Linked DNA regions of Homo sapiens: all the other regions are linked to region 4. Evidence: promoter capture Hi-C in 16 types of primary human blood cells and fetal thymus (Javierre and others, 2016). All regions are on one chromosome and are shown on one strand. The core of a region is centred on a gene start or on the middle of the fragment in contact, and the rest is flanking DNA. Distances in the headings are between cores, read along the strand shown. Region 1 has its middle 15 kb from the start of SBK1. Region 2 overlaps SBK1 (SH3 domain binding kinase 1). Region 3 overlaps GSG1L (GSG1 like). Region 4 holds the start of GSG1L (GSG1 like). Region 5 has its middle 3.8 kb from the start of XPO6. Region 6 overlaps GSG1L (GSG1 like). Region 7 has its middle 25 kb from the start of XPO6.

The links. The method cuts DNA at HindIII sites, captures the fragments that hold promoters and counts their contacts. A CHiCAGO score of 5 or more calls a contact.
Region 1: a fragment that was not itself captured here is called in contact with the fragment with the promoter of GSG1L in region 4 in 1 of 17 cell types (neutrophils); the score reaches 10.1 in neutrophils.
Region 2: a fragment that was not itself captured here is called in contact with the fragment with the promoter of GSG1L in region 4 in 1 of 17 cell types (neutrophils); the score reaches 5.7 in neutrophils.
Region 3: a contact is called between a fragment that was not itself captured here and the fragment with the promoter of GSG1L in region 4, in 1 of 17 cell types (M1 macrophages). The highest score is 5.4, in M1 macrophages.
Region 5: a contact is called between a fragment that was not itself captured here and the fragment with the promoter of GSG1L in region 4, in 1 of 17 cell types (neutrophils). The highest score is 6.0, in neutrophils.
Region 6: a fragment that was not itself captured here is called in contact with the fragment with the promoter of GSG1L in region 4 in 3 of 17 cell types (M1 macrophages, M2 macrophages and M0 macrophages); the score reaches 6.1 in M1 macrophages.
Region 7: a fragment that was not itself captured here is called in contact with the fragment with the promoter of GSG1L in region 4 in 4 of 17 cell types (neutrophils, monocytes, M2 macrophages and 1 more); the score reaches 17.4 in neutrophils.

The regions. Positions count from the first base shown.
Region 1 is chr16:28,276,054-28,278,753 of GRCh38, forward strand. It overlaps a transcript of SBK1 not described here. Among named protein-coding and RNA genes, the nearest start is that of SBK1, 15 kb to the right of the region's middle. RefSeq lists a silencer at 1,635-1,929. The HindIII fragment of the contact is 3,981 bases long and covers 1-2,700 here.
Region 2 is chr16:28,298,697-28,301,396 of GRCh38, forward strand. All of the region lies in intron 1 of SBK1 (SH3 domain binding kinase 1), which reads left to right. Among named protein-coding and RNA genes, the nearest start is that of SBK1, 7.5 kb to the left of the region's middle. The HindIII fragment of the contact is 672 bases long and covers 925-1,596 here.
Region 3 is chr16:27,838,879-27,841,578 of GRCh38, forward strand. All of the region lies in intron 4 of GSG1L (GSG1 like), which reads right to left. Among named protein-coding and RNA genes, the nearest start is that of GSG1L, 220 kb to the right of the region's middle. The HindIII fragment of the contact is 1,614 bases long and covers 455-2,068 here.
Region 4 is chr16:28,062,327-28,065,026 of GRCh38, forward strand. It overlaps GSG1L (GSG1 like), which reads right to left and starts at 1,388. Exons shown (of 7, transcript NM_001109763.2): 1 at 750-1,388. The coding sequence starts at 1,098. The HindIII fragment of the contact is 8,058 bases long and covers 1-2,700 here.
Region 5 is chr16:28,214,395-28,217,100 of GRCh38, forward strand. No RefSeq gene overlaps it. Among named protein-coding and RNA genes, the nearest start is that of XPO6, 3.8 kb to the left of the region's middle. The HindIII fragment of the contact is 1,356 bases long and covers 664-2,019 here.
Region 6 is chr16:27,895,437-27,898,136 of GRCh38, forward strand. The region is part of intron 2 of GSG1L (GSG1 like); the gene reads right to left. Among named protein-coding and RNA genes, the nearest start is that of GSG1L, 170 kb to the right of the region's middle. The HindIII fragment of the contact is 1,922 bases long and covers 341-2,262 here.
Region 7 is chr16:28,235,985-28,238,684 of GRCh38, forward strand. No RefSeq gene overlaps it. Among named protein-coding and RNA genes, the nearest start is that of XPO6, 25 kb to the left of the region's middle. The HindIII fragment of the contact is 1,892 bases long and covers 317-2,208 here.

The DNA of each region.
Region 1 (2,700 bases), core at 186-2,685, 210 kb after region 4:
AAGTGGAGGAGGAGGGAGGCTGGAGGAGGGGTTGTGGTTTGATGGCGGAGGCAGTGGAAATGTATCTCATCCATCTGTTTTCTCAGCAAAGTGGGAGCCACGGTTTGTTTGAGGAGAGAGGAGGAGGTGGGAAGTCATCCCAGACCTTGCTACAGAGTGGGCTCCACGGACAGCAACGTCAGCACCCCTGGGGGCTGGCGGGATGGAATGCGGAATCTCGGGCCTCACCAAGACCCCTAGGAGACTCACAGGCGAATTACAGTTTCAGAAGCTGCTCAGAAAGGGCAGGAAAAAGCAACTGGGAGGCATAGTGAGGGCGGAGGTTGGGGGCACTCTGCTGAGTGCCTCTCCAAGACCCGCGCCCCTGAATGAGACGGGGCACTGGCAGCTGCGGGGTGACCCTCCCAGGCAGTGTTGGCTTGCTTGGTGCAGGCAGAGAGCGGATGCCTGGCTAGCGCTGTGCCAGGTTGGTCCTATAGCAGGACAGGTGGGCATGGGAGTGGGCGTGTTTTCCAGGAGGCCATCGTGGTGGTGGCAGAAGGGGGTTGCTGGGTAGTGAGAAAGTGCTGCAGGTGGTGGATTGAAGTTTTTATTTTATTTATTTATTTATGTATTTATTTATTTATTTAGGGGCGGAGTCTCACTCTGTTGCTCAGGCTGGAGTGCAGTGGTGCGATCTTGGCTCACTGCAACCTCCGCCTCCCGGGTTCAAGTGATTTTCCTGCCTCAGCCTCCCAAGTAGCTGGGACTACAGGCGCCCGCCACCACGCCCGGCTAATTTTTTGTATTTTTAGTAGAGACAAGGTTTCACCGTGTTAGCCAGGATGGTCTTGATCTCCTGACCTCATGATCTGCCTGCCTCGGCCTCCCAAAGTGCTGGGATTACAGGCGTGAGCCACAGCTCCCGGGCGGTGGATTGAAGCTGATGCCTGCAGGTACCAGGGCAAGCGATGAAGAGGATAGAAGGGCAGAGCAGAGGGGGGAGTGCCTGAAATAGAGAACTCAGAGCAGGTGAGGTGTGGGGTCGTTACGCAGGCTGGGGTGTGGGCCTGGGAGCGGTGGCCAAGGGGCTTGCAGAGGAGAGGGTCGAAGGGGACGGGAGGAGGTCAGGGAGCTGAGAGGCTGCTGGAGGCTGCTGAGAACTCCTCTGTTCTCTGAGGTTTGTACCCCACAAACTTAAAGATGGTGAGAGAGGAAACGGATTCATTTGCTCTGGGGTGTGGCTGCGTGGGGACTTTTGAAAGCTCCCCGGAGTTTGAGAACCACGGTGTAAACATAGAGACAGAGAGAGAGAGAGAGAAAAAAAAAAGACAACAGGGGAGTAACAAGAAGGCACTCTAAGGTGGGGAATGGTGGCTCACGCCTGTAATCCCAGTGCTTTGGGAGGCCCAGGCAGGAAGATCACTTGAGACCAGGAGTTTGAGACCAGCCTGAGCAATACAGTGAGACCCCCGTCTCCACAAAAAATTAAATTAGCCGAGCATGGTAGTGCTCGTCTGTAGTCCTGAGGCAAGAGGATCGCATGAGCCCAGGAGGTGGAAGCTGCAGTGAGCCATGATCACACCTCTGCACTCCAGCCTGGGCGACAGTGAGACCCTTTCTCCAAAATACAAATTTTAAAAGGTACTCTGGGGCTGGCACAGACCGGGGACCTCGAGTGGACCAGCTGGGGAGGGGATTCATGTCCTGGGTTGTGGGCGATCAGAAGATGGAAATGTCGTGGTCTTGCCCTCGAGAACCAGATAGAACAGAGACAGAGACAGAGCGCGCGCCGCGGTCCCTCAGATCGTCCTGCACTACGGCGAAACGGCCACTAGAGGGCGTGTTGTGCTCACATATGCGGACCGGCCGGCAAGCGGCGGATTCCGCGGACAAAGTCTCTTGTTTAGCCACAGAACCCTGGGCTTGGCCCCAGGCCCGCTACGTCCGGGCCGTGTGGCCTCAGCCAGGTTACACAAAAGCTCTGTGACCCTGTTTGGTCAGCCATAAAATGGGCACAGCTATAAGTCCGACCTTCTAAGGTGGTGTGAGGATGCCCGAGGCCACGCAGGCAGAGCAGCGTCCAGTGGGGAACGAATGGCCCCGCGAGAAGGGGAGGCTTCGCCATGGCCTCCGTCTCTCTCCGCTTCTCCTGCAGCTCCTCCGCCCAGCCCTCCCCAGGCCACATCCGGTCCCGGGAGAGAGACTGAGATCGACTTTGGGGCAGGGGAGAGCAGGGGGAGGTAGGCAGTGTCTAGGACAGGGAAAGAGAGGAGGCAGCCACCTCCCTCACCCCACCCCACCTCACCCACCCCGCCTTTGTTTTAGAGGCAGGATCCTGCTCTGTCACCCAGGCTGGAGTGCAGTGTCCTGATCCTGGCTCACTGCATCCTCAGCCTCCCAGGCTCAAGCGATCCTCCTGCCTCAGTCTTCTGAGTAGCTGGGACTACAGGCAGGTGTCACCACGCCTGAGAAATTTTTAATTATTATTTTATTTTATTCTATTCTATTTTATTTATTTATTTATCTTATTTTGAGACAGAGTCTTACTCCATCACCCAGGCTGAGTTCAATGGCGCGATCTCAGCCCCAGTTTGAAATTCTTAATAATTTCATCTTTGAATTTGTAAGGGGAGTCTGATGGGCCGGTGGGGCATGTGCCCAGGCCTTGGAGCCCCTGCCTCATACCAGGCATGATCACACTCCGACCACCTCCCATAG
Region 2 (2,700 bases), core at 11-2,510, 240 kb after region 4:
ACTGCTGTGATCTCCCACTGCACTAGCACTCCTTCCTCATGGCTTTAGGCAACCACCAGAGGGGCAGAGGATGTTCCAACTGCCTCTGGGCTTTGGGATGGCCCCAAGGGGCTGGGAGACAGGGCACGGGTGGGGCTGGAGGGGACCATCCTCCTCCTTCTGATCTGGGCCCAGAGAGGCTGTATAGCGCTGGGCCCCCACTGCCTCCAGGGCAGCTTTTCTGGGTTTGTTAGGGTCCCCCACCATAGCCAGAAGGGGTTTACCTATCCATGAGCATAATTTGTGACTTTCTGAGCCAGGGCTCAAGGCCTTGCAGAGAGGAGACTTTTCCACCTTGGGAGCTCAGGTGCCTGCCAGCCCTGACCCTAGGTGTCTCCAGGAGGCACAATGGGGCCCACAGATAACACAGCTTAGTGGTAAAAAACGCAATCCCTAGATTCAGCTGGGTGACCTTGGACAAGGTGCTTAATCTCTCTGTGCCTCAGGTCCCTCATCTGTAAACAAGGGGGATGATATTAGTACTTGCCTCTTAGGGTCACTGTGAGGAGTAAGAGAATGAATGTAAAGTGCCATGAATGGCACCCAGTACCCATTAAGGGTTTGTTGTTCATATAAGTCCTCAAAGCCCTGAGCAGAAAGGGAAAGTTAGCCCCATCTTTACAGATGGAAAAACTGGAGGTGTATGGGTGAAGCTGTTTCCTCAAGATTCCGTAGCTGGGATTTAGGGAAGAGTCTGCCTCCCTTGATACCATTCACACATGGTCCACAAGCCAAGGCCAGTCAAATGGACCTGATGGGACCTCGCCTGAGCTCCAGGGCTAGATTTCCTGCCCCACGCTTCCACTTACACGGGGCCATGGCAGTGAGAACTGTGTCAGGGAGGAATCTGCAGCACTTGCCCCAGGCCTCCCCGAGAAACCTCTAAGCTTCCCCCACCCCCTCCTCAGCCCCACTCCAAGAACAGTGTGCGATGCTGCCACAGCTGGCCTCGGAGTTTCTGAGTCTGATCGGGTCAGGTTGACACTGTCACTTTTCACTTCTCCAGGCCAGGTTGGCTTCAGGAAGGGTTTGTTCAGGTTTGGGGTTTGGAGTGCATCCCACTTGGAGTGGAAGCCAGGTCCCCGCCATGGCCTCGGAGGCCCTGAATGACAACAGCCATCCCTTCTCACCTCTGCTCTCATCTCCTGCCCTTCACTCCCTTATCCCTGTGCACACAGCAGGTCCCACCTCTAGGCCTCCACACAGTGCCCTCTGCCAGGAGAGCCCGCCCACCACAATGCCTATGTGCATGCAGCCTTCTCCATGGGCTGGCCTCCCACCCACAATTCCCTTGCCTCTTTCCCGCTCTGCTGTTCCTTGAGGACTTCTCACTGCCTGACACACATCTCCTGCTCATCTTTGTCACTGTGTGCCTCCAAACTAGAATATGAGCTCTTTGAGGGCAGGACAGTTTGTTTGGTTCACGAATGTATTCCAGACCCAAAAATAGTACCAAGTACATAGTAGGTGCTCAACAAATACTTATTGAATATTTTGGAGCCAGATAGATGATCTCTACGTGACTTCTTAGCTGTGTGACACAGGACACATCACTTAAGCTTCCTATCTCTCTTTTTTGTTTGTTTGTTTGTTTGTTTGTTTGAGATGGGATCTCACTCTGTTGCCTAGGCTGGAGTGCAGTGGCGTCATCACAGCTCATGGCACTTTTGGCCTTCCAGGCTCAAGTGATCCTCCCGCTTCAGCCTCCCGACTAGCTAGGACCACAGGCGCATGCCACCATGCCTGGCTCATTTTTTTTTTAATGTTTTATAGAAATGGGGTCTTGCTATGTTGCCCAGGCTCATCTTGAATTCCTAGGCTCAAGCCATCTGCCTGTGTTAGCCTCCCAAAGTGCTTGGATTGCAGGCTTGAGCCGCTGTGCCTGGCCAAGCTTCCTATCTCAGAGTCTCAGTTTCCTGAACTGTAAAGGATGTAAGGGGATTAATAATAGCTTCTCCTGAGATTGTCATGAAGTTGAAATGAGTCAATATATATACAGTGCTTATACTTTCAGTGGCTCATAAATGTTGGCTATTACTAATAGTACCCTAAACTGCACTGTTATTTTATTATTTCACTTTACTGAGGATGGGGAAATGGGGAGACGGTAAGTGGCAGATCCAAAGCTTCCAGGCTAGAAATGGCGGTGAAAGCCTGAACCTGGACCGCAGGCTCCTAGGCTGGGCTGTCTTCAGTCCATCCCGGTGTAGGAGCTCAGGGAGGCAAAGGAGGTGAAGGATGCAGCTGGAGAAGGGCCCATCTCTTCTGGGGCCTCTGTTCACCCAGCCATCTCACCAGAGACCACCACTTGTCCACTGGTAGACATTCAGCCCAGTCCCCTTGCCTGTCAGCCAGTGGTGGGCACCTACTGTGCCCAGCATCCTGCACTCCTGTTGATACCCCTGAGTGCTGGGCCACCTGCCTCACCCAGGCAGCCAGGCTGGGAAGACCTCCCCAGCTTATCCCACACCCCTGGGGGCTGCCCCGGGCCCTGCACCCTCCAGTAGCCAGGAGGATAGGACCCAGGACCCCTGCCTTTCACAGTGCCTCACTGGGGAGGGCAGGAGAGGCTGGAGAGCCTGTTCCAGCTCTGGGCACCAGCTGCAGGAAGGCAGCGTCACAAGCTATTAATAGCCACCAAAGATGTGCCCCGAGAAGGGG
Region 3 (2,700 bases), core at 12-2,511, 220 kb before region 4:
GTCTTAGAATAAAGGAGGCCGCAGCCACCTGCCTCAGGCTGATGAGTAAGGGCAGACTTCCTGCTGATCACACAGCCTCTCAGCAGAGACATCAGCACACACACCCTCTCCAGTTGTCTTTGGGGCCCAGGCTCTGGTAGGGTCACAGCAGCAGACTCAACCCCTTAAGGGATTGGCCTGCTGGAATACCAGCTAACCCCTCCAGAGAGCAAAGGGGCCGCCTGGGGTCCCCAGAGAGGAAAGAGGCTGGTCTGCTGTTTCCACATAGTCATGGAGACTAGAAAGGGAGGGACAGCAGTGAGGCCTATATTCCACAGGGACAGGGCCCCAGAAACAGAAAGGGGCCACTAGGACAGGAGTGAGAACCTTCCCTAGATCTGGCCCAACTTGCTACTCTCTTGCTGTGTGACATGGGCCAAACTGCATAACTTCTCTGGGCCCTCCAGCTCTTATAAGCTTCCACACCACGATGTCCCACTACCCTCAGTCTGCAGAGTGAATGCTTGAGATAAGATTTCACTGTGTGTGCAGGAGTAAGAGGAGAACTTTTTCCATTTCTCTCCAGACTGATAAAAGGCAAAACAGAAGCAGAAAGCGCAAGGCTAGCTTTCCACACTCCTGCTGTCACCAGGAAAGCTGACATTCCAAGCAGGGGCCACAGACTCAAATTCCTGCAAGGTCAGGCAGATGATGACTAAGTGTGGAAGCGTGGGTAAATGTAAGGCAATAGGGTGTGGTGGGGACTGGGGTGAGCTGGAGACCAGATGCCTATCTAAAGTTTCAGTCATTCTCAGCCTTATCTCCAGGCTGCCTGGTGGCAATGCTGGTTGTGCAGGAACAGATCTTCCAATGATCATGAATCAGAAACCTGGACTTTTATGTAGAAGTTTTACCATTTTAGATGTTAGAAATAAATCCAAACTTTTATAAGACACAATGGCAGGCCTAAGAAATCATCCGCAGGCTGGGTTCAGCCCCGGCTGCATGCAGTTCACAGTATCCAAGGCTAATTGTGTGGCTTTCAACCTGTTTCCTGGTCCCTGAAGGGGGATGGCAGCCCCTCTCCTGGGGATCAGTGACAGGACCAGGCAACTCGGGGCTTGTAAAGTGCCTCCCACTGTGCACAGCACAAAGTAGGTGTAGTAACCTTAATCTTTTTTTTTTTTTTTTTTTTTGAGACAGAACCTCCAGCCCAGACTGGAGTGCAGTGGCACGAACACAGTTCACTGCAGCCTCAACCTCCTGGGCTTGAGTGTCCCTCTCACTTTACCCTCCTGAGTGGCTGGGACTACAGGTGTGCACCACCACAGCCAGCTAATTATTTTTATTTTTTATTGTTTTAGAGATTGGGTCTGGCTATGTTGCCCAGGCTGGTCTTGAATTCCTGGCCTCTGGCGATTCTCCCACCTTGGCCTCCCAAGGTGCTGGGATTACAGGTGAGTCACTTTGCCCAGCCCCTCTCCCATCTTGGCCTCTCAAGGTGCTGGGATTACAGGTGAGCCACTTTGCTCGGCCCCAACCTTAATCTGATTCACTTGGTCCCTGCCACGTTAAGCCAAGCAGCTGCTTGGGCGCCCATCAGGGTCCTGACCTGACGTTGTCACAGGTAGGGAGAGCTGAGACATGGCGCCAAAAGGAGGAGTGGGCAGGAGGGCTCGCACTCACCGAGCAAACTCTGTGCTGAGTGCTCCACATGCATTGATTCACTAGCTCCTCGTGTTGGTTACTGTCTCCAAAGCTGGCCTCCAGGGAGCCACACCTCCCGCGGTTCATGCCTCCCCTTGAAGCTGGCCCTGTCACTTGCTCTTAACCAATAGAATGCAGCAGGAGTGACACTGTGTGATTTCTGAGGTTGGCTCATGCAGATACTGTGGTTTCCACCTGGGTCTCCTGGAACACTCACTCTTGAGATAGTCTCCCCAAGGACCCAGCCTCCAGGCTGTGTGAAGCCCCTCCGGCCGCCAGCCACCGCCAGCCGGCACCAGCTGCCAGTGTCATGAGGTGCCACCTTGGAGGTCCACCCCAGCCACGCCCCAGATGACCTCAGCTTCAGGTGACATCCAACTGAAGCTTCGAGGAAGAACCCAGCAAGCACCACCCAGATGAGCCCGGTCCACCACCAAACGTAAGAACAAATAACAACACATTTTTACTAGTTACTATTATTACTACATAATAACATATTTTTTACTAGATTTGGGGGTGATGTGTACACCTCAACAGAGAAATGGAATACAATTCAAGAGACCCCCATGAGGCGGAAATTCGGGCTGTCCCATTTTCCAGCTGAGGACACAGAGGTGCAGAGGAGGTAAGTGACTTGGCCAAGGTCCCCGGCTGGTGAGGGGCAGGGGCAGGATCTGAACCTGAACTGTCTGACTCCAGGAGCCACACCCTTGACCGCCCCTCCACGCTGCCACAGTGGCCCAGCAGTGTATGTCGGGGTGAGATTTGAACCCCAGGCTGTCAGACTCTTAACCATGGAGACCTTCTACTTCTTGCAAAGGTGTCCCTCTAAGAAACCGGCACTCAACCGGCTTTGAGCGCCTCAAAACCCCTCCAGCTTCCAGAGACCCTGCAGCTTGTTCTTCCCTGCTGGGCAGGAAGACAGAGGTGGGTGCCATCTCTTCTCAGAGCTGTTCTCCTCTCCAGTACCGGGGGAGGGAGCAGGGGAGGCTCTCGGGCCAGGATTTTGACAAA
Region 4 (2,700 bases), core at 138-2,637:
AAAGTCAGTCCCCCACCGAACCTAATAGGAGCCTTGTGCTAAGCTAAGCCCTCCTGGACTCCTCGACCCGGAGTTTGCCCAGCTGTCCCCAGTTCCCTAGCCTGCCTCTCCCAGGAGGGGGCCAGGATACAGAGGGCTCCCTGGCGTCTGGCAATAGGGGTGCCTCTGGGCGGGTGCGGCTTTCCGGGAGCCCGCGGGACTCCCCCACTCCCCACTCCCGTCTGGGAGGTTCGGCGTGGGTTGGCGATGGGGGTGGAAGGCTCCCGGGTCTGTGGATCTGCGGCAGGAGGGGCGGCTGGTAGCAGGAGTCCCTGCATCACCCCCACCCCCAGGGGCGTTCCGGGGTGGGTGGGGGCATCTAGTGCCCCGCGAAAGGAAGAGGAGGAGGGGGCGAGCGTGGAGATGAGTTCAGGAGCGGAAAGCAGCGCGCGCCCCTCCGACCGGCAGCGGGGGTGGGCGCCTTCCCGGGGCGCGGGAGCGTCCCCAAAGCCGCGGGGCGTCCGCAGCGGGTAGGAGCTCTGCCTTGCACCTCTCCACGGCGGGGCGTCCCGCACGTCCCCCCATGCTGGTCCCCGGCCCCGGAACGGCGCGCGCCCCCTGCCCCGGAACGTCGCCCCTAGCCAGGCGGAGCGCTGGGAGCTGGGCCCAGGCGGCGGGAGGAGGGCGAACGGGTCCGGGGCTCGGGCCTCGATGGCCGCGCCGCCCCGGGGGAGCCGGAGCCGAGCTGGCCGCCGCCCGCGCGCACTCACCAAGCCCGCTGAGCTCCTCCTCGCACGAGTACCAGATGCCGGTGTGGAAATTCCTGAAGAGGAAGCGGTCGTCGCCGGTCTCCCAGCTGTAGAGCGCGCCGCCAGGGGGGCCGTTCCCCGAGGCGGTGGCGGCGGCGGCGGCGGCGGCGGGGGCGGCGGTGCCGTTGGCCGTGGCGTTGGCGCCCGAGTTGGGGCAGTTGGCGCGCCCGCCCTGGCCGCAGCCCGGCTTGGGGACCCGCTGCGTGCCCTGGCACCAGTGCGTGGTGAGGAAAGCGGTGGTGGCGAACAGCAGCGCCAGCAGGTTCAGGGCCACGGCCAGGAGCGCTCGGCCGCGGCGGCTAGTCTTCATGCCGCCCGCGCCGCCGGGACGGGACTGCACCGCCGGGGAGCTCCGCGCGCGAAGTTGGCAGCTGGCGCCCCGCGTCAGCGGCCGCTGCCCGCCGCGCCCCGGGGCTCGGGTGCCTGAGATCGGCGGCGGCGGACGCGGCGCGGGCCCATGCCCCCCCCAACCCCGGGGTGGGGGCGCGGCGCGGGGGGCGTGCGGGGCGGGCTGGCGGGGCGGGCGGCGGTGGAGGAGCGGCTACGGCGCGCCCGGAGCCCGGAGCGCGAGTGCACCTCGGCTAGGAGCCGCTGGCGCCTGGCAGCGGCCACGGCGCAGGGACGCGCGCCCCTCCGTGGGGAGACACCTGCAGGCGGCCGGCGACACTGTTCCGGAGCCCGCCCGCACGGGGAGAGGGGGCCGCCACGCCGGGCGCGGGCGGGGGCCTGGGAGTGGAGGGACGCCCCCGAAAGAAATCCGAGCCAGGGTGAGGGTCTGAGACGCAAGGAGAATCCCAGGCAAGGCGCTCCTGAGAAAAGATCCCCACGGCGGACGTGGGGCAACAAAACCCGCCGGGAGCGGGCATCTCATGAGACCCAGAGAGGCCCTGCCCCAGGAGACAAGGGCAGAGCCTGCTGGGGCTCCCCAAGAGGGACACGGACCAGCAGGACCCTGTCCCAGAAGGGGATCCCCAAAAGGACCCCCGCACCAGACCCTGAGAAAGGAGTTTTTCCAAAGGTTCTAAACAGCAGAGCCTGCAGGGCTTCCCACAGCCAGGGAGCTGCAAGACCCCCTGGATAAGACAACCCATGCTGGACTTGGAGTGGCAGAATCTGTCAGGAGGCGCCCCTCCTGGAGTATTGGGTTATAGGGTTTGAAACGTTTTTCTGTCTCCTGGGTGTCACCTCCAGCATCTGGGAAGAGCTCCCCTCCAAGGATGAAACTGTCATCTGGGCTCCCAACCATGGCATGCAACTGCAGGAAGAGTGGCAACAGGGTACCCCAGACAGCCCACTGCACCCACCTGAGATCCCAAACAGCAGAACCCTAGGAGGGCCCATGCCGGCCACAAAGTTATTGCAGCTACCAGGCAGTGGTGCCCTACAGGGGCTGCCAACCCTGCTCACATGCACACCATGTGAATGTGGGTAGAATCTTCAAGATTCGGGTGGGGGCAGGGTGGCCAAACATACTGACTTTGGGATCAAGCATATCTAGGGCTTGACCAGCTGTGTGGCTTTGAACAGGTCACTTACCCTCTCTGAGCCTCAATTTCCATAACTATAAAAAAGGGAGGACCCCCCCCCCTTCAAGGTATATCACAGTGGGCTGCTGTAATGAGATCATGGCTGCAAAAAGCATTTGGCACACAGTAGACTCAATTAATAATTCACTGTTACTGACATCTGAACCAAGATCAGTTGACCAAACTCAGACAAACCTCTTCAGGCTCTCCTGTGCAACGTGGAAACTGTGTGCAACCCCGTCCCCACCTCTGCTCTAAGATGACCACGCTCCCTGAACTCCCTTCGCGCTGCACAGCACTTACTGCCCAGATGCTCAGGGCGTGCAACAATTAATTGCATGTTGATTATAAGAGCTCATTTGAATTCTGCCCAAGCTGAGAACTGC
Region 5 (2,706 bases), core at 92-2,591, 150 kb after region 4:
CAATTCTCCTGCCTCAGCCTCCCAAGTAGCTGGGATTACAGGCACCTGCCACCACACCCAGCTAAATTTATTTTTGTATTTTTAGTAGAGACGGGGTTTCGCCATGTTGGCCAGGATGGTCTCACCTCCTGACCTCAAGTGATGCGCCCACCTCGACCTCCCAAAGTTCTGGGATTACAGGCATGAGCCACCATGCCCAGCCTCAAGCACATTTATTTTATCAAATCTTTATTGTTGTCCACTAAGTGACAGTCACTATTTCAAGGATTCAATGCTGAGCAAAACAAATATATGTGTGCCCTTATGGAATTTAAAGACAAATTATTTGTAAAATATTGTACAATAATGGATCAGTTATTGTGATAAGAGCAATGAAGGAAAAATTGAAACTAACATGATATAACTTTAATATAGTTTACACGCTAATAAGGCCAAGGGATCTAAAATAATCTGGCAGATTAGGATGGGGAGGAAGTCAGGAAGTGACATTTCTTTAAGCTTTGGCCTTAAAGAAGCAGGAGTTTGCTAGGCAAAGAGAGGGGGCATAGAACATTCCAGGCAGTAGAAACAGCATGTACAAGAGAAGCCATCTCAGTAGGTAAGCTGATGAATCGGAATGGAGGCCAAGTCACTTACTTGGCTTAGTTTAGTAGGATGAGTGAAAGCTTTGGGTTGAGACTCATTTGGAGTGGAATCCAGCTCTTAACTTCACTAGCTAAGGTATCTTGAGTTATTGACTCTCGAAGTCTTGGTTTCCTTACTGTAAAATTGAATGAGATAACAGAAATGCAACTGACTCACTTAAGGGTATGCCTTTGGGTTACATAACTGGACTTCCAGAGATTCATTAGCTTTTGGCTGGGTGTGATGGGAGGCCTAGATCCATTCCTCTAGGATTTTCTTTTTTTTCTGTGTGTGGTTTTGTGTGTGTTTGTTTGTTTGTTTGTTTGTTTTGTTTTGTTTTATTTTTTTGAGACAGGGTCTCAGTCTGTTCTCCATGCTAGAGTGCAGTGGCGCAATCACAGCTCACTGCAGTCTCGACCTCCCAAGCTCAAGCAAGCCTCTCACCTTAAACTCCCAGTTAGCTGGGACTACAGGTGTGCGCCACTATGCCCAGCTGATTTTTTTTTTTTCAGCAAAGACAATGTCTCACTGTGTTGCCCAGGCTAGTCTCCAACTTCTGAGCTCAAGTGATCTGCCCACCCCGGCCTCCCAAAGTGCTGGGATTACAGGCATGAGCCACCACGCCCGGCCATTCCTCTAGGACTTCCTTGCTCTGCTCTTCTCCATTATCAGACTTGTTGTCAAGGTGGTTGCCAGGAACAGCCAGGGCCACAAAATTCCCTGTTCAAATCCAGCAAAAGAGAGCACCTTTTGGCCGGGCACAGTGGCTCACACCTGTAATCCCCAACACTTTGGGAGGCCAAGGTGGATGGATCGCTTGAGGTCAGCAGTTTGAGACCAGCCTGGCCAACTGGTGAAACCCCATCTCTACTTAAAAATACAAAAATGAGGCTGGGCATGGTGGCTCATGCCTGTAATCCCAGCACTTTGGGAGGCCGAGGTGGGTGGATCACCTAAGGTCGAGAGTTTGAGACCAGCCTAGCCAATATGGAGAAACCCCGTCTCTACTAAAAATACAAAAAATTAGCCAGGTGTGGTGGCGCATACCTGTAATCCTAGCTACTTGGGAAGCTGAGGCAGGAGAATCGCTTGAACCCGGGAGGCGGATGTTGTGGTGAGCCGAGATTGCACCATTGCACTCCAGCCTGGGCAACCAGAGCAAAACTCCATCTCAAAAAAAAAAAAAAAAAAAATTAGCTGGGCATGGTGGCAGGCGCCTGTAGTCCCAGCTACTCAGGAGGCTGAGGCAGGAGAATTGCTTGAACCCAGGAGGCAGAGGTTGCAGTGAGCCGAGATTGCACCACTGCACTCCAGCCTGGGTGACAGAGTGAGACTCCATCTCAAAATAAAGAAAAAAGAGAGAGCACCTTTCTCACATCCTTTCTCAAGCCAAGAAGCTTTCCCTACTGATCCTAATTGGCCTAGGCCTAGTCCCCCGGATCTAGCCGTAGTGAAGGAGGGTGGAACTGCTATGAGTGGCTTATAGAATCCCCTGGAGTTGCTTTCAATTCCTCAGAATAAACTGGATGTGTGGAGTCACCACATCATAGCTCCATTGCCAGGCTGGGGTGAAGATTTAATTTAATGTACATAAAACACCTGGCACATGAGGCATGAGATAAGTCACAGCTATTATAAATTTGACTCCAGGGATTTTGTTCAAGTAAACTAAATAACATTTTGTTATTAATATTAATCTGAAGCCTGTCTTATTCCAAAAAAAGATTTAAGGCTGCTATTACTTTTAGTTGGCACTGCAGGGATGGCCCCCAGCCATCTCTGCCTGCCTATTTCTATTGCTACTGCCTTGATCGCCTGCATTTAGTTATTCATTCAACAAACTTTCAGTGAGTTAGTATTAGCTTTGTGCCAGGCCTTTTGCTAAAAATGAAGTATTTAAAGTGAATAAGAATCAGGCAAATTGTCCACTGTCTGGGTCAGCAACAGCCACCCAAATAATTACAGCACATTGTGAGGTGTGTATGAACTTCCTAAGCGTACGAGGAAATGGGGAGGAAGCAACAAAGATGGTAACCTTTGGGTTGGGTCTTGATGGACGAATAGAAGTTCACCTGGCTGCTG
Region 6 (2,700 bases), core at 52-2,551, 170 kb before region 4:
TCTCCGATACTGCAGCCGTGCAACATTTTAAGACCCTGTATGGACCCCTGATATCTACAGATAGGGGTGAAATATCCTGCAAACCTTTCCCCATGGTCCAGGGTTCTAACAAACACCACACAATCCCATAACTCAATTTTCAGAGTTAGAGGAAAAGGAAAGACATTCAGCTCAGACGCCTGAATTGACTTTCTAAGCCAAGGGCATGGATCTGACAGCTGTTCCCGAAAGTTCTCTTGTCCAGCCAGCCCCAAATCCTTTCCAAAAAGTCCCAGAGAGGGCGAGTGAGTTGCCCAAGGTCACGACGCTCACTCGGAATCTTCCTTTAATAAGTCCGGAAAGCTTTTATGCTTTGACTCCAGGTCATAGTAGAGACCCTCAGTGGATACTTTAGTGGGATGGGCAAAAAGGTAGGGCAACAGAGCACGTGGGGATGTGATTCCATTCCGATGCCAATCGGCATGCTACCGTGGAAACACAGGCCTGGAGATGACTGTTTTCTGCATAACCATCTTGTCTAGAGTCTCAATCCTCAAAGGGAGGTCTACAAACCAGCAGCGTCAGCATTCCCTGGGACCCTGGAGAAAATATAGAATCTCTGGCCCCTCCCAGACCTACTGACTGAAGACCTGCATTGTCATCAGGTCCCTAGCTGACTCCAAAGCACATAGGAGTGTAAGGAGCACTGGCCTAGGGGGTCACTCCAATGGGTGGGGCATGCTGGAGGCGTGCGGGAAATGAGATGTTCAGCCTGCAGCTGTACTTCCTTCTGGTGGGTGCTCAGGGTGGAGATGGGCAGGACTGCTTGGGAACCATGTGTCAAGGGCATTGAATGCTGCACTAAGACATTTGAATGTGACTAAGCCCCTGGGGCTGGCTGAATAAGGGCTCTCAAAGGTGTCCCCTTCCTAATCCCTGGAAGCTGTTCACTTCCAGGATACGTTACCTTGCATGGCACAAGGGACTTTGCAGACATGATTAAGATCTTGAGATGGAAGGATAAATAGCTAATGCACATGGGCCTTAATACCTAGGTGATGGGTTGATGGGTGCAGCAAACCACCATGGCACACGTTTACCTATGTAACAAACCTGCACATCCTGCACATGGATATTGGAACTTAAAATTAAATTAAATTTTTTAAAAAGTCAAAGGTCGAAGGCATAGAAAAAAAAGATTTTGAGATGGGGAGATTATCCTGATATCTGGGTTGGCCCAGTGTAATCACAAGGGTCATTATGACAGGGAGACAGGAGGGTCAGAGACAGAGAAGGAGATGCAATGGGAAAAGCAGAGGTTGCAGTGATGCGGGGCCATGAGCCAAGGAATGCAGGCGGCCTCTAGAAGACAGAAAGGGCAAGGAGACAAGTTCTCCCCTTGAACCTCCAGAAAGGAACACAGTCCGGCTGACACTTTGGTATTTTGTTGTTGCTTTGTTTTGTTTGAGACAGATTCTCGCTCTGCTGCCCAGGCTGGAGTGCAGTGGCACGATCTCAGCTCACTACAACCTCCGCCACCTAGGCTGAAGCGATTCTCCTGCCTTAGCCTCCCGAGTAGCTGGGATTACAGGCGTACACCATCATGCCTGGCTAATTTTTGTATTTTTAGCAGAGACAGTGTTTCACCATTTTGGCCAGGTTGGTCTCAAACTCCTAACCTCAGGTGATCCCCCCACCTCGGCCTCCCAAAGTGCTGGGATAACAGGCATGGGCCACCACGCCCAGCCAACACTGATTTTTAAGTCTCATCTTGGAATTCTGACCTCAAGAACTGTGAGATAAATCCATATTGTTTCAAGGCACTAAATTCTAAATTTGTGGAAATTTGTTACATCAGCAAGAGGAAACTAATACACCTCCTTTTTTTCTTCTTCCTTTTTGAGACAGGGTCTCGTGCTATCACCCAGGCTGGAGTGCAGTGGTGGAATCACAGCTCACTGCAACCTCCAACTCCTGGGCTCAAGTGATCTTCCCACCTCAGCCTCCCAAGTCTCCAGGACCACAGGCACGTTCTATTGTGTCTGGGTAATTTTTTAAATTTTTTGTAGAGATGAGGTCTCACCCTATTGCCCAGGGTGGTCTCAAATTCCTGGCCTCAAGTAATCCTCCTCTGTTGACCTCCCAAAGTTTTGGGATTACAGGCATGAGTTACCATGCCCAGCCAACTTCCTTTCTTTGTTCAAAATCACTTCCTCCCCGAACCACCCTAGCCCGCACTGTGGCCCCCACCATGGCCCCTAGATCGACCTTAGCAAAGAAGGAAGCTTCTCTACCACCTCCACAGAGATACCTCGCTGTGGTGGGGTGAGCCTGGACTTGAGGTCAAACAGACATGGATTTGACCTTGGCCTTTTCCTAACCTCTCTGAGCCTCAGTTTCTTTGGCTATAAAACAGAGTCCACACTACCAATCTCACAGGATTTTCTGGGCAACTTTAATGAGGGAATGGCTGCAAAGCCCCCATCTAGTTCTTGGAGCATTCTAGGTCCTCTGTAAACGGCAGCCTATGAAGCTGATGGGCTGGGCCCAGAAAAACAAGTCCTTTCTCCTCCACACTCAACAACTGAACAAACTAGTTTATCATTGGAAAGGATTTTGACAATGCCTCTGGCCCCTAGAGTTCCACAAGCCTCCAGGCCTTGTCAGTTCAGAGACGTCTCTGGCAGACGTGCCCTTTAGAAATGGCTCTTTTGGAATCTG
Region 7 (2,700 bases), core at 13-2,512, 170 kb after region 4:
AGCTGGGATTACAGATATGCACCACCACCTCCAGCTAATTTTTTGTATTTTTAGTAGAAACAGAGTTTCACCATGTTAGCCAGGCTGATCTCGAACTCCTGACCTCAGGTGATTCACCCACCTCGGCCTCCCAAAGTGCTGGGATTAAAGGTGTGAGCCATTGCACCCAGCCATGTTCACATTATAAGTAGGAAGCAGAGGGAAAGAAATGATGTCAGCCACACCTGGACCCTCTTTTTTCAAAGCTTTCCTGTAAACCTTGAACAGCCTTCTGTCCCTATCTTATTGACCAGGACTGGGAAATACCACCTCCCTAAGCTTCAAGAGAGGCTGAGAAAATGTAGCTTTTCTAGACTGTAAATAGTGGCAGTAGCAAGAGAGAGGGAAGTGAGGAATGCCAAAAAGTGCCAACCACAGGACACTTTATTGTAAATATGGCAGGAGAATATTTTTTGAGACACAGATTGATGTTTTATTTAATTTCTTGATTTTAAAAAACCTTTACTATTATTATTATTATTATTATCTGTAGAGACGGAGTCTTACTATGTTCCCCAGACTGGTCTCAAACTTCTGGGCTCAAGCAATCCTCCCGTCTCAGCCTCCCAAAGTGCTGAGATTACAGGTGTGAGCCACCATGTCTAGCCTGATATTTTATTTTCTTCTTTCTTCCCTAATGTTAATCCAAAACCTGTCTTTGTCTCATATTCAGTAGAGAAATGGGAGAGGGTGGAAAGCAGGTAAAATCCATGAGTTTCGGGCTTTTATATCCCAATAGCTTAAGTCCTTATTGGAGAAAGATAAAGGCCAAAAATAGGACTTGTCACTTTCAGATGCCCCTGGGGTAGGGAGAAAAGAGAAAGGCAGAGGGGAAGTAATGGAAAAAAAGAGAGAGTTTGGGAAATCTCAGAGGGAAAAGCTCTGAACTCCACTTCTTTGGGGAAAAGCGATGAGACTCCAGAGAGATGCTTGAGAAAGCCCAGAGCAGATGGGACCAGGCATGGTGGCTCACGTCAGTAATCCCAACACTTTGGGAGGCCAAGACAGGGGATCACTTGAGTGCAGGAGTTGGAGACCAGCCTGGGCAACATGGCGAAACCCCATCTCTGCAAAAAAATACAAAGGTAAGCTAGACATGGTGGTGCACACCTGTAGTCCCAGCTACTCAGGAGGCTGAGATAAGAGGATTGCTGGAGTCCAGGAGGTTGAGGCTGCAGTGAACCATGATACACCACTGCACTCCAGCTTGAGGGATAGAGCAAGATCCTGTCTCAAAAAGAAAAAAAAAGAGCAGAGGGGAGAATGCTTCACACAATGCCCTAGTTCTCAGTGGGCATGAGAGTAGTGGAACATTCTCTGAGCCTTGAGCATGGTCCTGAGAGGCAGAAGGAGCTGCACAGACAGAAACAAGCAGCCTGTGTAAGCTGAAAGCCAGGGGGTCAATGGCTGAGGGGTGATGTCTCAGGCACACCTGCATGGACAGAGGACTTCAGTACAGACACTGCCCACCATAGTTTGGCACTTCAAAAGTTACCAAGAAATATACACATTCACATAGGTGAAAATGCCATCTTAGCTTGCAATAGAAATTATGCTGAGTGGCCAAGCATGGTGGCTCATGCCTATAATCCCAGCACTTTGGGAGGCCAAGGCAGGTGCATCGCCTGAGTCAGGAGTTTGAGACCAGCCTGGCCAACATGGTGAAACCTCATCTCTACTAAAAATATAAAAATTAGCCAGGCATGGTGGTGTGCACCTGTAATCGCAGCTACTCAGGAGGCTGAGGTGGGAGAATCGCTTGAACCAGGGAGGCAGAGGCTGCAGTGAGCTGAGATTATATCACTGCACTCCAGCCTGGGCAACAGAGTGAGACTCTGTCTCAAAAAAAAAAAAAGAAAAAAAAAAGAAAAAGGAATGGAAAGGAAAGGAAGAGAAAGTATGCTGATTTATGGAAAAAGTAAGAAAGTTCTTCATGCCTTCTTCAGTATGTGGTCTGAGATCATAGTTTGTGGCAGAGACCACTGGGTACCTCTCCCAGCATCCATTCTCCCCCTTCTCCTTAGGAATAAACTTTTACTTCTAGCTGGGTACATTTCCCAGCCTCCCTTGCAGCTAGGTGTCATCATGTGACTAAGCGGTGGCCAATAAGATGTAAGCAAAATGGCTCTATGGGACTTGTAGGAAGTTGCCTTAAAAGGAAGGAACACAAGCTTTCTCCCCACTTCCTTGTTGCTTGGAGTAAGGCAGTTCCAGCAGCCATGTTGGCCCAAGAAGTGACCTTGCAAATAGAAGGTGGATGAGAAAGTGGAGCGTGAGACTCTGTGTTGTGGCCATAGCATCTTGGACCACTTGCCTTCAGATGTATTTGACATGAATGGGAAATGCACTGCATTAGTATGTGAGGGCTGCCATGGCAAAAAACAGCCAGCTCTCCACATCCTCAGGTTCTGCAACCACAGATTCAACCAACCACAGGTCAAAAATATCTGGAAAAAAAAAAAACTGTAATAGGCTGGGTGCAGTGGCTCATGCCTGTAATCCCAGCACTTTGGGAGGCCGAGGCTGGAGATGGCCTGAGGTCAGGAGTTTGAAGCCAGCCTGGCCAATATGGTGAAACCCCATCTCTACTAAAAATACAAAAATTAGTTGGGTATGGTGGCGTGTGCCTGTAATCCCAGCTGCTCGGGAAGCTGGGGCACG